2 separate regions of the Homo sapiens genome follow, and region 1 is linked to region 2. Evidence: promoter capture Hi-C in human tissues and cell types (Jung and others, 2019). All regions are on one chromosome and are shown on one strand. Each heading gives the region's core, a stretch centred on a gene start or on the middle of the fragment in contact. The rest is flanking DNA. Distances are from core to core; before and after follow the strand shown.

Region 1 (2,700 bases), core at 133-2,632, 140 kb before region 2:
CTATCTATCCACTCATCCATCCATCCATCCACCCACTCACACATCTATTCATCCGTCTGTCTACCCATCTATTAATCAGTCATCCCATATACCCATTCATTCTTCCATCAACCCATTTATCTACCCATCCATCTATCTATCCATCCACTTATTCATCCAACCACTCATTCATTCATCCATCCATCCATCCATTCATCCATTATCTCTCTCTGTCTTCCATCCCTCCATCTATTCTATCTTCCAACTATCCCTCCATCTAGCCCTCCTTCTATCCATTCCTTCATCCATCATCTCTATCTTCCATCTATCCATCCACCTATTTACTTATCCATCTACCCACCCACCCATCCATCCATCCATCCATCAATCCATCCACCCACCCACCCACCTACCCAGCAAATATTTTCTGGGTATCTATTATGTGTTATGCACTTAGAATCCATTAAGTAAGACAGACATGCTCCCTGACTTTCTGTCCTTCTGTAGCTCTAGTCTGTGACAGAAATGAATATTAAATCTCTCTCTCTCTCTCTCTCTCTCACACACACACACTCACACACACACACAGCAAGTGCTGTGACGAAAGAGGAGCCAAAGATTGTGAGGGAGGAAGTGGAAGGAGCATAGCCCTGGAGCCAGAACCGAATCCTGCCTCAGTCCCTTCCCAGCTGTGTGACCTTCGGCATCTCACTCTCCTCTCTGAGACTCGATTTTCCCATCCGCAAAGGACCTGGGGAGAGCTCTAGGTGCTTAACAGCAATGGTGACCCAGGTAGGTTTTAGGATCCCTCTTGACCTCCTGGAACTTTCCTCTTCCTTCTCTGGACTCTCACAGCTCTGCTTGCTCCTACTTGAATTACAGCAGTGTTTTTGATTCTTACTCTCATGGCTGAACTGGCAGCTCAGTTTTCAGGACTGAAAGCCTGACTTCATTATCTCTGTCTCCATCATGGCCAACAGTGTGGCAGGGAGCACAGAGGTGGTGTTGGAGAGAATTTGCTGAGTAAACAAATAAGAAAAAAATGAACAGATGAAAAGAAAGAGGGGATGGATGGAAATTTCTTCCATTCTGCCAAAACTGGCCAGAGCATTAATTCATGAAGGGAGAGGGAGCGTATGTGTGTATGTGCGTGTGTGTGTGTGTGTGTGTGTGTGTGTGTGTGTGAGAGAGAGAGAGAGAGAGAGAGAGAGAGGCTAATATCCACCAAATCACTTACCAACTCTAGAGGCAGCTGTTCCTCAAGGCCAAGTTCAATCTCACTACTCTCCTAGTTGCCAATACTGAGCTGGGCACCGAGGAGGAGTCAGGCCCACGTACTGATCTTGGAGAAGGGGCTGACAGTGTGGAATCTCCCGGGGTTTCTCCTGAGAAGCCTGGTCTATGAATCGGGTGGCACAATCACCTGGCCCTTTATTGTCGGTGAGTTTTCTGTCACTCAAGAAACCTCATGACACACCCTTGGCACACAGCTGTGGTGTGGAAATGGAGCCAACGCCAATGGGATGAGTGATCGCAAGGCTGAGGGGACTCCCTCTGGCAAAGGTGGCCTAGGCAGAGAGTCTAAATGAGTCAGATGTCTGTGCCAGCCCAGCCACAACCTCTCCCAACCCCCATCCCATAGCCAGCCCATCTGGTTATTACCATCATCATTATGCCTAGTTTATTCATCTCACCTTCCACTGTGTAGATAACACCGACTTCACTTAGTTATTATCTCATCGAGTCTTCAAGAGTCTAGACAGATCAGTATTTTTGCTCCCATTTTGCAGATGGAGAAACTGAGGCTCATAGAGGTGAAATGACTGCCCAAGGTCAGCAATTGGCACAGTTGGCATTCAACCCTATAAGGGGTGAGGTGTGGTGGGTCACGTCTGTAGTCCCAGCGCTTTGGGAGGCCAAGGCAGGAGGATCGCTTGAGGTGAGGAGTTTGAGACCAGCCGGGGCATAGTGAGACCCTGTCACTAAAATAATAATAATAATAAAAATGATGGCATATACCTATAGTCCTAGCTACTCAGGAGGCTGAGGTAGGAGGCTGGCTTGAGCCTAGGAGTTTGAGGCTGCAGCGAGCTAAGATTGTGCCTCTGCACTCCAGCCTGGGTGACAGAGCAAGACTCTGTCTTAAATATAAAAACAAACAAACAACCCCTAAAATGTTCCAGCCCAGTTGCCTTAACTGATGCATCATGATGATTCCTCTCTTCCTCCTCCTCTTATTATTTTTCAGCCATTTTGTTTCATTTTATTTCTTATGTTAATAGTGAAACCAAAGGCGAACCTGATTAAGCCCTCCAGACTTAATCTGCCTTGCGTTTAATTGCTTACTTACTTTTAATTGCTTACTTATAGTTGATCTTAAAAGCGCCACTAGCAAGTCACGTAGCCAAATAATGCATAACTAAACTCCCACTGGCTTCCTTACAGATAACATTTTTGTCTGTGGGACACTATAGTAATGGGTGCTTAAAGTTGTTTTTCAGGAACTAGGTAGGAGGCAGCTCTTGTTTAGTTTAAGCCAGTGGAGATCACTGACCCTTCAACTGCACCTATGTGGGTAGCTGATATCAGAGGGCCGTAAACTCCACCTTCAGATCATGCTAAATGCTATTTTTTGCACAAATGTCCTATCTAAAGCCATGTAGCTCAACCATGCTTGCTCAGAAATTCTGATTACCTCACCTTCCCTACCTGCCAGTCACC
Region 2 (2,700 bases), core at 166-2,665:
CCCGAGTAGCTGGGATTACAGGCATGCACCACCACGCCTGGCTAATTTTTGTATTTTTAGTAGAGACAGGTTTCACCATGCTGACCAGGCTGGTCTCGAACTCCTGACCTCAAGCGATCTGCCTGCCTCAGCCTTCCAAAGTGCCGGGATTAGAGGTATTAGCCACCGTGCCTGGCCAAGATCTAATATTTAATAACACAACAAGGGGATTGTAGTCAACAATAATTTATTGTATATTTTGAAATAATTAAAGGAGTGGAATTGGAATGTTTCTAACACAAGGGATTGATAAATGCTTGAGGCAATGGATACCCCAGTTATCCTGATGTGATTGATATGAATCATATAGCTGTATTAAAACATCCCATGTACTCCAGAAATATACATGCCTTCTATGTACCCACAATAAAAATGACAATTTTTAAAAATAGCAATAATAAATTTAAAAATGCAAAAAAATTACTTGCCTAGATCAATGCCATGAATTTCCCTTATGTTTTATTCTATGAATCTCATAGTTTTGAGCCTTTCATTTATGTCTTTTTTTCTATTTTAAAATTATTTTTCTATGTAGTGACAGATAGGGATCTAATTCCATTTCTCTTGAATGTGGATATCCAGTTTTCCTACCACCATTTATTGAAGAGCTTGTCTTTTTCCAATGTGTGTTCTTGGCACCTTTGTCAAAAATGAGTTGGCTGTAAATGCATGAATTTATTTCTGGGTTTACTCTTCTGTTCCATTGGTCTATGTGTATGCTTTTTGATGATGAAAGGAATAAGTTCTACAGTTAGATGAAAGGAATAAGATCTACTGTTCCACAGCACAATAGAATGACTATACTTAATAATTTATTATATATTTCCAAATAGCTAGAAGAGAAGATACGAGTGTTTCCAATACAAAGAAATGATAAATGTTTGAGAGGGCAGGTATGCCAGTTACCCATATTTGATCATTATGCGTTGTATGCTTATATCAAAGTATCACATGTACCCCATAAATATGTGCAACTATTATGTATTTATAAAAAATTTTTAAAAATTTAGAATGACTTTATAGGCTTTTCAAGGTCCAACAGCAGGTACAGAGTAGATGCAAAACTCCAAACTTTTTTTTGTGATGATAGATGTTTCACATTACAAAACAGGTAAATGAGAGGTGGAAGAGCAACATCAGTCTCATCTCATCACCAGTGATAACCATTCATTTAAGAACAAAAATGAGACATGCCAAGTTTTTTACATACATTGCTTTGCATTTACTACAATTTACACATGTCTTTCACAATTGCATCTTTAACCGCCCCCCGCTTTTGTTGGACTTTGTGTGATTCCTTTTGTGAAGTGTGGGTTTATTCCCTTTCTTCATTTTCTCTTGGGGTCTTCAATCTGTAAGATGTCTTGACCCTATAAAGATATCACTTTTATTAATTATGAATTATTCTGGGCATCGGGGTCTATAACCAGGATTGAACATTGCCAGAAACGAGGAAGCTGTTTTCGTCACAGTCTCTCATCAACCACCTGTGTACATCATGCCTATTTCATGCATCTCTTTGTTTATTCAGCAAATTCTCATGTATTTTGTTAAATACCAGGCACAAAGTGATGATATAAAATGGAGCCCCACATTTACATGTGCATGGGAAGCTTTTGGGCTGGAATTTGCTGCCCTGTTTACGTCCTTAGGGGGCCACATTAATAGAGGGCTCAGAACCACATGGGGAGACGAGGCTGTCAGTGTCTTGAAGTTTCAACAGCAGCAGGGAGACCACCTGGTTCCTCAATACTCCTGACACCATCTCTGATCACTCTCCCTCCTTCTCATTGCCCTCAACACGCTGGCTTCTATTTGAGCCTTGATTTTCCGAAACAAGCACCTTCCTCAGGCCTTTGCATTAGTCATTCCCTCTGTCAGGCACAGACTTCGCCAAATATCCTCTGGGCTCCCAACCGCCTCTTCCTTGAGGTCTCTGTTCAAATGTCACCTTGTCTGCTGGTCTTGCCTGTACACTCATAAAAAATAGCAACCCCTCTCCATTCTCTTTAATGTGCTTTCATTTTCTTCTAAGCACCATCTAACGCAACAGATGATGATGTCTTTATCAGCTCATTGTCTTTCTCCATCATTGGATAGTAAGGTTATCAGTTTCTCTGCACCCTACACTCATTACCTAGACAGTTCCTGGAACATGGTCAGCATACAATCAATATTACACAAGTGCGTAGAAGAATTTCTCATTAAAGAATATACAACCTCTTAGGGAAAGGTTGAGAATAGCACAAGAATTTTCAATCAGAGACAGCTCTGAGGAGCACAGAAACTGGGAAAAGTTCCATACACAAAATATAGAAATTAATGTCTTGGCTGCAAAATATAACTGGTTGTCTTTCAACAATGTGAGTGATGCCCTTTTGAGTAAAAATTGGTCATGTTCTCTTTCTCTGACTGGTAGTCACCTCAACCACATGGAACCAGAGAATGGTACGAGGATTTTAGGATTTCTTCTTCTGGGACTTTCAGAGGAACCAGAATTGCAGCCCGTTATGTTTGGACTCTTCCTCTCCATGTATCTGACAACTGTGTTTGGAAACCTGCTCATCATCCTGGCCATCTGCTCTGGTTCCCACCTCCACACCCCCATGTACTTCTTCCTCTCTAACCTGTCCTTTGTAGACATCTGTGTTACCTCCACCA

What was found. The method cuts DNA at HindIII sites, captures the fragments that hold promoters and counts their contacts. A contact is called where the count stands out against the background at its distance.
Region 1: the fragment with the promoter of CASP14 here is called in contact with a fragment that was not itself captured in region 2 in 2 of the 25 tissues and cell types used here (lymphoblastoid cells and mesendoderm cells).

Annotation. Positions count from the first base shown.
Region 1 is chr19:15,048,162-15,050,861 of GRCh38, reverse strand. It overlaps CASP14 (caspase 14), which reads right to left and starts at 1,382. Exons shown (of 7, transcript NM_012114.3): 1 at 1,217-1,382. The HindIII fragment of the contact is 29,360 bases long and covers 1-2,700 here.
Region 2 is chr19:14,903,945-14,906,644 of GRCh38, reverse strand. It overlaps the pseudogene OR7A3P. Among named protein-coding and RNA genes, the nearest start is that of OR7A17, 19 kb to the right of the region's middle. The HindIII fragment of the contact is 6,964 bases long and covers 1-2,700 here.